Linked DNA regions of Homo sapiens: all the other regions are linked to region 3. Evidence: promoter capture Hi-C in human tissues and cell types (Jung and others, 2019). All regions are on one chromosome and are shown on one strand. Each heading gives the region's core, a stretch centred on a gene start or on the middle of the fragment in contact. The rest is flanking DNA. Distances are from core to core; before and after follow the strand shown.

The links. Contacts are between HindIII fragments. The study calls those that stand out against the background at their distance.
Region 1: a fragment that was not itself captured here is called in contact with the fragment with the promoter of ALDH3A1 in region 3 in 7 of the 25 tissues and cell types used here (adrenal gland, aorta, bladder and 4 more).
Region 2: a fragment that was not itself captured here is called in contact with the fragment with the promoter of ALDH3A1 in region 3 in 6 of the 25 tissues and cell types used here (adrenal gland, bladder, lymphoblastoid cells and 3 more).

The regions. Positions count from the first base shown.
Region 1 is chr17:19,855,154-19,858,977 of GRCh38, forward strand. All of the region lies in intron 3 of ULK2 (unc-51 like autophagy activating kinase 2), which reads right to left. Among named protein-coding and RNA genes, the nearest start is that of TRG-CCC3-1, 3.8 kb to the right of the region's middle. The HindIII fragment of the contact is 7,474 bases long and covers 1-3,824 here.
Region 2 is chr17:19,633,255-19,636,650 of GRCh38, forward strand. It overlaps the pseudogene SLC47A1P2. Among named protein-coding and RNA genes, the nearest start is that of ALDH3A2, 14 kb to the right of the region's middle. The HindIII fragment of the contact is 7,870 bases long and covers 1-3,396 here.
Region 3 is chr17:19,746,503-19,750,361 of GRCh38, forward strand. ALDH3A1 (aldehyde dehydrogenase 3 family member A1) reads right to left here and starts at 1,796. Exons shown (of 11, transcript NM_000691.5): 1 at 1,757-1,796. RefSeq lists an enhancer at 3,753-3,859. The HindIII fragment of the contact is 25,713 bases long and covers 1-3,859 here.

The DNA.
Region 1 (3,824 bases), core at 657-3,156, 110 kb after region 3:
CAGCACTTTGGGAGGCCGAGGCGGGTGGATCACAAGGTCAGGAGATCGAGACCATCCTGGCTAACACTGTGAAACCCCGTCTCTACTAAAAATACAAAAAATTAGCCAGGCATGGTGGCGGGCGCCTGTAGTCCCAGCTACGCGGGAGGCTGAGGCAGGAGAATGGCGTGAACCCGGGAGGCAGAGCTTGCAGTGAGCCGAGATCGCGCCACTGCACTCCAGCCTGGGTGACAGAGCGAAACTCCATCTCAAAAAAAAAAAAGAAAAGAAACCCTATCTCTACTAAAAATACAATAATTAGCCGGGTGTGGTAGCAGGTGCCTGTAATCCCAGCTACTGGGTAAGCTAAGGCAGGAGAATCACTTGAATCCGAGAGGCGGAGGTTGTAGTGAGCCGAGACTGTGCCATTGCACTCCAGCCTGGGCAACAGAGCAAGACTCCATCTCAAAAAAAAAAAAAAAAAAAAAGGAAAAAAAGTCTAAAGTAAGACCCCCCCACAAAAATACCAAACAAAATGGGAAAAATATCTCAAAACATGACAAAGAGCTATCAACTCTGATTCCCTCTTGTTTACCTCCTACAGTCCAAGTGCCCAAGTCCTAACAATTCTATCTCCTAAACATCTCACTAATCTGTCCAGGCCTCTGTCTCCATTGATACCAACATTCTTTCTTACCCAGATATAAATAGCTCTTTCTTTTTAATAACGGTATACACTGAGCATGGTGGCACAGGCCTGTAATCACAGCTACTCAGGAGGCAAAGGCAGGAAGATCGCTTGAGCCCAGGAGTTAGAGGCTGCAGTGAGATATGATGGCACCACAGAAGAAATGCACTCCAGCCTGAGTAACAGAGTAAGACCTCATTTCTAAATAAGTATTTAAAAATAAAAATAAATGTACAGTTCAATGTGTTGTGACAAATGTTTACACCTACGTATCTACCCTGCCAATCAAAATACATAACAATTCCATCACCCCAAGAAGTTCTCTCATGCCCCTTTCCTATCACTCCCTGGGACCAAGAGTCAACCTCTGTTCTGATTTCTATCACCCTAGCTTACTTCTGACTCTTCCCAAAATTCACAAAAACAGAATTATACTGTAGCAGTATATGGCATGCTTATTTTTCTCAAAATAATGTTTGAGGCCGGGCGCGGTGGCTCACGCCTGTAATCCCAGCACTTTGGGAGGCCGAGGCAGGCGGGTCACGAGGTCAGGAGATCAAGACCATCCTGGCTAACACAGTGAAACCCCATCTCTACTAAAAATACAAAAAATTAGCCGGGTATGGTGGCAGGTGCCTGTAGTCCCAGCTACTCAGGAGGCTAAGGCAGGAGAATGAGGGGAACCTGGGAGGCAGAGCTTGCAGTGAGCCGAGATCGCGCCACTGCACTCTAGCCTGGGCGACAGAGCGAGACTCCGTCACACACACAAAAAAAAAAAAGTTTGAAATTCACGTTATGACATGTATCGTTTGTTCCTTTTTATATATGTCAATTTGTTCATTGTATTATTTGCTATAAAACGAGTTTTACGGCCGGGTGCAGTGGCTCACGCCTGGAATCCCAGCACTTTGGGTGGCCGAGGCGGGCAGATCACAAGGTCAGGAGATCGAGACCATCCTGGCTAACACGGTGAAACCCCGTCTCTACTAAAAAATACAAAAACAAAATTAGCCAGGCATGGTGGTAGGCGCCTGTAGTCCCAGCTACTCGGGAGGCTGAGGTGGGAGAATAGTGTCAACCCAGGAGGTGGAGCTTGCAGTGAGCCGAGATCGCACCACGGCACTCCAGCCTTGGTGACAAAGCGAGACTCCATCTCCAAAAAAAAAAAAAAAAAAAAAAAAAAAGAGTTTTAAAATTTTTTATAGCCAGGCACGGTGGCTCACACCTGTAATCCCAACACTTTGGGAGGCCAAGACGGGCAGATCACCTGAGGTCGGGAGTTCGAGACCAGGCTGGCCAATACGGCAAAACCTCGTCTCTACCAAAAATACAGACATTAGCCAGGTGTGGTGGCGGGGCGCCTGTAATCCCAGCTACTCAGGAGGCTGAGGCAGGGAGAATTGCTTGAACCTGGGAGGTGGAGGTTGCAGTGGGCCAAGATCACGGCATTGCACTCCAGCCTGGGTGACAGAGTGAGACTCTGTCTCAAAAAAAAAAAAAAAAAAATGTTTTACATGTCCCTACTAGAGCTTCTGATACTACAGCTTCTGAGTTTCTTATCTTGATTTAAAATGTCTTTCCATCCCTTGGATTGTACAGTCATTTAAATATTATTCTGAGACTGTTATTGTTTACTTTATATATTTAAGCTTTTAATTCATTTGGAAATGATTTTGGAAAATGATGAGAATGGTGTTCCAATTCTATTTTTTGTCAGATGTCTCAGTTTTATGAGCACCACCTATTAAATTAATCATCTTTTTCTTGCGATACTAAAAATTACCAAGAGGTAGATATTTAACCAGGCCACTGACAATCACACAGTTATGTATTCCTAAGTGAAAGTACTTATCTCATGCTCAGAGTGCTCTAGGAGATTTATCTTTTGAAAAACAAAAACGGTATCACTCTCCTGCTTTTAAAACTCTTCAATAGCTTTGTACTGTCCTTAAGATAAAGATCAGATCTGGCTCCTGCTAACCTCTCCAGTATCATCTAACACTATGCTCTCGCTCTCATTACTGTACTCCAGACACACTAGCCTTCTTCCAGTTCCTCAAACTCAGTGATCTCTCCTGTCAGTGGTCTTTACAGAAGCCTTCATCTCCTTGGGAAACTTACTTTATTTTCTCCCATTAACCCCCACCTAGCCTTCTCCCACCCATCCCTCAGTCTCTACAGATATCATTTCCCCAGGAAGCCTTCCCTTGTCCCATTTTCCTAGGCCCCATATTGTTCAAACCTCGCCAAGAGCTCTCCCTTACAGCACTTGGCACACTTGGAAATAGTAACTATTGGCCCGGGTGTGGTGGCTCACGCCTGTAATCCCAGCACTTTGGGAAGCCAAGCTGGGCAGGTCGCTTAAGCTCAGAAGTTTGAGACCAGGCTGAGCAACATGGTGAAACTCCATCTCTACAAAAAATAGAAAAATTAGCCAGGCATGGTGGTGCCTGCCTGTAGTCCCAGATACTTTGAAGGCTGAGGTGGGAGGATGGCTTAAGCCCAAAGGGTGGAGGCTGCAGTGAGGTGTGGTCATGCCACCACACTCCAGCCTGGGCAAGAGAGCCAGACCCTGTCTCAAAAAAGAAAAAAAAAAGAAATAGTAACTATTTGCTTAATGTCATCTTCCCTAATATCCTGTAAGAGTTCCACAATGACAAGGACCATTTCTACTTTGTTCACCACTATACGCCTGTACATCTCATTAACCAGCTCAAGAAATACTAGTCACAAATAAACCAGTAAGAAAAATGAACACAACCTATGCATCATAGGACAGCAATGGGAACGTCACAGAAGAAATGTAAAAAGACAAATACAGCAAAAAGATGACTGATACCCTAATGGTTTAAGAAAAAAAAAATACCAGCTGGGCGCAGTGGCTCACATCTGTAATCCCAGAACTTTGGGAGGCCGAAGCAGGTGGACCACTTGAAGTCAGGAGTTCGAGGCCAGCCTAGCCAACATGGTGAAACCCCATTTCTACTAAAAATACAAAAATTAGCCAGTTGTGGTGGTGGGCGCCTGTAATCCCAGCTACTTGGGAGGCTGAGGCAGGAGAACTGCTTGAGCCCAGAAGGCAGAGGTTGCAGTGAGCCAGGATCGTGCCACTGCACTCCAACCTGGGCAACAGAGTGAAACTCCGTCTCAAAAAAAA
Region 2 (3,396 bases), core at 352-2,851, 110 kb before region 3:
CTTTCAGCAGGAATTTTCATTAAGAGTTTTCAATGACCATGGCTAAAATGGTAGAATTACCACCATTCTACAAACTAGAAATGATAATTATATGCCATATGTTAAGTATGAAAGGTGACCTTGTTATTTGGACAGTTTTTACTCTTAACTGTGGATGGAAAGAATATCAGGGATGTTTCCTTGGTTATTCCAAGGAATTGCACTATCCTATTGGAGATCAAGAAAGGGGCTATAATTTTAAGTAAAGTTTTCCCTGTTAATTTTATCATGGTTTCTAAATATACAAATTAGATTTTCCTTGATGTAAAGGTTACTTACTCTTTCTTATTTCAAACATCTTTCTTCTCCTGGGGAGTGGTTCATAGTCCTGTAAAATATTATTGCTGATCTATTTTCTTTGTATTTCTCTATGAATGTACTTAATCTTGTCAGTGAGTGTATATTAAGTGCTTGTTCAAGTCCTATCTCAGGTATTGCCATATAAGCTTTTATAAAATGGAACCTCTTAAAATTTACAATGTATGCTGACAATATTTGGAGCTATACAGTCAATACAAAAGATTAACTTTTAGCATTTTTGCCTTTTAATTAATTTTGTGGCAACTTTCATTTAAAGTAGAAAATAAAGTAGAAAATAAAGAGCTGTGTTCTCTTCTGCTACTCAGCTCCCAGAATGCTGGCAGCTATGGTGGCCTCATCCTCAAAGCAAAAGAGTTTTAGTCTTTTATAGGAAATTAGACCAGCCCAAAAAGAAAATCCTTAAAAAAATCTGAATATTGGGTATTCTCTCACACAAAGCCCACCAGATTCCCAGGAGAGGAGCCCACAGTGGAAAGCACCCAATGTCACCAGTGCTTCCCTTAGCTTATTTGTCTCCCTCTCTTGAGTGTTAACAAGCAACCCAGTATTATCAGATTATTTGTGAAAATCCAATTATAGGAGAAAGCAACCAGAAAAAAAATAGGCATTATAGGGAGAAAACTTACATCTTCAAAGAGGTAACGCAAAATATTTCAACTATGATATAGAATAGGATGCTATAGAATAAAACATTCAGTCAGGTATGGTGGTACACACTTCTAATCCCGGCACTTTGGGAGGCTGAGGCAGGTGGATGGCTTGAGCCTAGGAGTTCAAGACCAACCTTGGTAACATGGCAAAACCCCATCTCTACAACAAAACCACACGTCTGTAGTCCCAGCTACTCAGGATCTGAGGTGGGAAGATCACTTGAGCCCAGGAGTTCGAGGCTACAGTGAGCTCTGATCACACCACTGCACTCCAAAAAAAAGTTTTTTTTCCAGAAGATTATGTATGTACGTATGTATGTATGTATGTATGTATTTAGAGACAGGATCTGGCTCTGTCTCCCTGGCTCAAGCAGTGGCATGATCACAGCTACTGTAGCTTTGATCTCCTGGGCTGAAGCGATCCTCCCACCTCAACCTCCCATGTAGCTGGGACTACAGGCGTGTGCCACCACTTCTGGCTAATTTTTTTTTTTAGTTTTAGTAGAGATGAAATCTCGCTATGTTTCCTATGGTGGTCTTGAACTTCCGAGCTCAAGAGATCCTCCTGCCTTGGTCTCCCAAAGTGCTGGGATTACAGGCGTGAGCCACTGTGACTGGCCCTAGATTTTATTGAAGTAAAATTCATATAACATAAAATTAACCCTTCCAAAACATTTTTATCATACCAAAAAGGAAACTCAGATTATTAACCTCTCACTCCCCATACCCCTCTCCCTGAGTTCCTGGCAACCACTAATCTGCTGTCTGTGCCTGTGGATTTACCTATTTTGGATGTTTCATAATGAAGGAATCATAGAACATGTGACCTTTTGAGTCTGGCTTTTTGAACTTGGCATGCATGATGGTTTTGCAATTCCTCTATTTTTTTTTTTGAAACAGAGTCTCATTCTGTCACCCAGGCTGGAGTGCAGTAGCACGATCTCAGCTCACTGCAACCTCCACTTCCCAGGTTCAAGCAATTCTCCTGCCTCAGCCTCCTGAGTAGCTGGGACTACAGGTGCGTGCCACCATGCCCGGCTCATTTTTGTATTTTTAGTAGAGACGGGGTTTCACCATGTTGGTTAGGCTGGTCTTGAACTCCTGGCCTCGTGATCCACCCACCTCGGCCTCCCAAAGTGCTGGGATTACAGGCATGAGCCACCATGCCTGGCCCGCGATTCCTCTATGTTGTAGCATGTCTCTCAAAACTTGATTCCTTTTTCTGGCTGAATAGTTTATTGTGTGATATGCCACCTGGTGTTTATTAATCAGTTGATGGACTTTTAGATTGTTTCTATGTTTTGGCAATTGTGAATAATGCTGTAGTAAATACTCGTGTACAAGTTTTTGTTTGAACACCTGTTTTCGCTTCTTTTGAGTCTATACCTAGGAGTGGAATTACTGGGTTATATGATAATTCTATTTTTTTTCTTTCTTTCTTTTTTTTTTTTTTGAGATGGAGTCTTGCTCTGTTGCCCAGGCTGGAGTGCAGTGGCGCGATCTTGGCTCACTGCAAGCTCTGCCTCCTGGGTTCACGCCATTCTTCTGCCTCAGCCTCCTGAGTAGCTGGGACTACAGGCACCCGCCACGATGCCTGGCTAATTTTTTGTATCTTTAGTAGAGACAGGGTTTCACCATGTTAGCCAGGATGGTCTCAATCTCCTGACCTCATGATCCGCCTGCCTCGGCCTCCCAAAGTGCTGGGATTACAGGCGGATAATTCTATTTTTTTTGAGGAACTGCCAAAATGTTTCCCATGGTGGCTGCACCATTCTTCATTGCCACCAGCAGTGTATGAGGTTTCCAGTTTCTCCACATCCTTGCTAACACTTGTGATTTTCTTTTTGATTTTAGTTATATCATACTAGTGGGTGGGAAGTGGTGTCTCATTGTGATTACTAGAGATCACATACTACTAATAATGCCAAGCCTATTTTCTGAAATACTTCAGAAACTCAGATACACATAAAGAAAGGAATTATGTACTAGAAAAGGAATAAATGAAGGTAAAATATTTTATCCTTCTTATTTTTAATTGATAAAAAATATATGAAAATAATAGCAACAATGTATTTGGTTATTACAGCTTGTGCATAGCTAAAATGAATGACAACAGTGTTATAAGGGTCAAGAGGGAGGAACTGAGAATATTCTAAGGCACTTGCATTACCCATGAAGAAGAATAGTGTTATTCAAAAGTGGAATTAGGTTAGTTGTAAATGCATATTGCAAACTCCAGGACAACTAATGAAAAAGTTTTTAAAAAGTAATATAATCAATATGCTAAGAGAAGAAAGAAAATAGCATCTCATAAAATGCTCAGTTAAAACCACAATGGAAGAAAAAAAGTAACAAGGACAACAAAGAGAAAAGGTGGGCAGGGCGT
Region 3 (3,859 bases), core at 546-3,045:
TAATATAATTACTTTCAGCGAGACTCCATCTAAAAAAAGAAAAAGAAAGAAAGAAAGAAAGAAAAACAGAAAACAAGTTACAGAACAACAGATGTACCAGGCGTGTGCATGTGTGTGTGTGCGTGTGTGTGTGTGCGTGTGCGTGTGTGTGCATGTGTGTGTGTGCGTGTGTGTGCATGTGCGTGTGTGTGTGCGTGCGTGTGTGTGCATGTGCGTGTGTGTGCGCGCGTGTGCGTGTGTGTGTGGGCGTGCACGCTCTAACATGCAAGAAAGGACTAGAACGGTAGCCCCCGACACGATGAGACAACTGATGGGGGTGGAATTATTGATGATCTGTTTTCCTCTTATGCAATGTTTGACTTTTTGCAATGAGCTTGTATTTTTTAAATTTTGGTGCGTTTTAAGATAGGCACTACATGCTCATGAAACAAAATGTAAAATATAGCAAAGGGGCACAGAAAAAAGTCTGCCTCCCTCCTCCCTGCTCCATCAGCTGTCAGGTGCTGCCCCACAGAGGGGCCACTGTTACCAGTTCCTTACTCCCCTTCCTGAGATACTCAGCCCACTTGCAGACCCGGCATAACTTTTAACATCAGCAGAAATAGGGTATTTCCATTTTTTTAAAAAACCCTATATATCATATGTAATATATAATTATATTGTATATAGATATATGGTCCTGCCTACATTCCAGCGAGTGGCTTCCAATCCTTCCTCTGCCTCCCCTCCCCATAGGCTGACCCCTAATCCCAGGCTTTCTGCACAGGGAGGAGGGACCTGCTGGCATTGAGGGTGCTCTAAGCCTGGCCCTTCCATGGTCCCTCCCTATGTTCTGATAGGAGGCTGGGAAAGCCCCCTCACTGGGACCTCCTCAGTCCCATGGGCCAGGCCCCTCCTGCTGACCACAACCCAGGAGAGAAGGTCCCGCTTCTCTCCCGAGCCTTGTACGGTCAAACCAAGGCAGGCAGCCCAGGTGGGAAGAGCCTGGTGAGCGTGGGACGGGATTGGCCTTGCACCCCAGCATCGCCACTTGGAACTGTGGTCTCTGGGCTGGACGGCCTTCCCAGGACTTCCCCGAGAGACAGGTTAACAAAGGTGCCACTTCACAGAGATGAGTGGACACCATCACGTCGCAGCTGCACCCAAATGGGAGCTGCTGCAGCATGCACTGGGGGCCTCCCCAGAGCCCGTCGCCTCACACCCCACATTCCTGCACCCCGCTCCTCTCACCTGTGCCAGTGTTGACTTTGCCCCCCAGTGACACCTCCTCCCCTCCTCATTGCCTTCCATCCTCACAAAAGCTCTGTAGTGATGCCCATGAAGAAGAAACGGTTATGAGTGCATTTTACAGATGAGGAAAGGGAGACTGAGAAACGTTTAATGCTGTATCTGATCTCACAGTTAGCAGGTGGCATGTCAGGGTTTGAACCCACATGCATCTCTGTCAGCAGCTCATGCCTTTAGCACTCGGCTCTGCTGCCTTCCTTCCAGTCATGGAGTCTGACGGCCCATCAGGGCCTCTCACTCCACGGCCACCTTGGTGTCCCTGCTCCGCGGATCCCTGGGACCTCTGCCTCCTGGTTTGGGGGATGGCAGAGCTGCCAGAGGTCCAGGAGGATGCTCCAGAGATGATGGTCCCAGAGGCAGGGACCCCCTGGAGAGATGATGTAGGACTCTTGACACTTAGGGCCCCGGCTCTGAGTGCAGACTCCACCTAGACAAGAGAAAAAATAAGGAATGCAGGGAAGAGGATTACCTTTGACACAGCCTCTCCCGGTAACTGGGGCTCCTGGAACGGCAAGAGCCAAGAGGGGACGTATTTAAGGACCCTGCTTCCCGTCCATTGAGCCCTTGGAGTTCCTGCCCAGGAAGTTTGCGTGACAAGAAAAAAAAATATTCAAATGTGGGGTGTGGCGTCCTCTGGACCTCTGCTCCCTACAGCCCAGGTTTTGGGGATTAGGTCCCGGGCTGTTTGCTTTTGTTCACTTCTGAAATGCGAGAATGTTTCTGAAGGCTTGGGCAGGGCACATCTCCAATCTTCAAAAGAGCCTATGTTTGCCCTGGGCGTGGGGGCTGCTGATTGATTCAGCCTGGCATGGAGCTCTTCCAGCTTTCCAGACTTGCCGCTGCCAGATGCGGTTCTCTGAGTTCTCTGGTTACATAAGATCGGCAGGGCTCAGCCACGAACCACAGTGAGAGCATGCAGCTCCCCCGAAACGCACCCCCAGCCACCGCTGCCCCGGGCCCTTCACATCCCCCAGTGTGCACAGGGCCCCATTGAGTCAGAGATCCTAACCCTGGGGAGCCACAGGCTGGGGACTTTTGATGGGGGTCTCCAATCCATAAATCTGCTCTCTCGTTGAATAGCTGAGAAGAGGGCCAAGGGTCTGTGTGGTCACCGAAAACCAGAGATGCTTGGGAAGGAAGGAGTCTGGAAAAGCCGTTCCCACGCTGTCTGATCAATGTTCGCTGGGCTCCTGCTCTGCACCACGCTGTGGGGAGGAGGCAGGTGTGGAACAGACTCTCGGCCCCTCTCACCAGGCGCTTCCCGCCACCCTCACCCGCCTGCAGGCAGACTGCTTACCAGCATGGGGTCCCTGCTTCCCATTTCATTCGAGGAAAACACAAGGTTCCGGTCCTGGCCTACGAGTCCTGAGGATGTGCTCTGGCCCTCCTGCTTCTCTCCACCTGGAGCCCCCTTCCCCTACATCCACCCACACGGCTACGCTCCAATGTGCTGTGGAAAATAGCACAATGCTGTCGTCTTCCTCCATTATTTTTTCTCTGGAGCGTTTATATCTTGTTTGCTACCTGTCCCTTAACTCCTGACAGCTAGAATTTGATTTGTTCACTGCTGTAACCTCCATACAGCATTTATAGTAGATGCTCAATAAATATTTATTGACTGACAAAATAAACAGGAAATTTCAAAATAATGTGAACACTGTAGTAACCAGGTAGGCAGAGGATGCTAGAGGGGCTGGGGTGAGAGTCCGTGGGAGGGAACATCATCTGAGCTGAGTGAGAAGCATTTGGGCAAGGAACAGCAAGGGGGCTGGAAGAGCAGAAGCAAAGGCACAGAGGCTGGGAACGTTATGTCACGAAAAAGTGCGATGTGTCCACTGTTGCCAGCAGGAGGTGTGGAGGTGAATGACTCTCCTGGGGCGGGGGCTCACGGAGGCCTGTGGGCCAGGCTGGCTGTGGGGGTGCAGGGCGCTGAGGAGATTATCAGACAGACAAATGTCTGCTATTTTTTGTTTTAGAGAACCCCCTGGACAGGGCACAGTGTGAGAAAGGTCTAGCCCAAAGGCTGCAGCTTCCAGCAATGCAGGCAAGAAATGACGAGACCCCCAAATAAGACTAACAGAATGGGAAACATTCCAGAAACAGCAGAAAGAAGCATCTGCAGGACCTCGCACCTGTGCAGGGGCTGGACTGGGTGGTAGGTGCAAAGTGGGGTGCCTCCTGAGAGGGGAGAAGACCGAGCCTGTGCCAGCCTCTCCCCTTTTCTGGTGGCAGCAGCTGATTATCTTTGCAGGCAACCCCTTCCTACTTGGTGAGATGATCAACCAGGTGCCTTCTCCAGGCCAGCCATGGGTTGGGGTGGGCTCCCCATGAGGCCTCCCTGACTCTCCTGGGAATTTGGATCTTGAGTAGAGGGCAGAATGCAAGGCCGAAGGCCATTCGGAGCTGACTTCTTGTGGCAGCGGCCCTCCCCTGGGAGAACCATGGAAGCAACTAGCAAAAGCCAGCAACACAGCATTGAGTACACGAAGTGACCAGAACAGTGCCTGGCGGGCCGAGGGCATCCTGGAAAGGTTAGGTGGTGTGGGTGTCATCAAAAGTGGCAGCAGTAGTG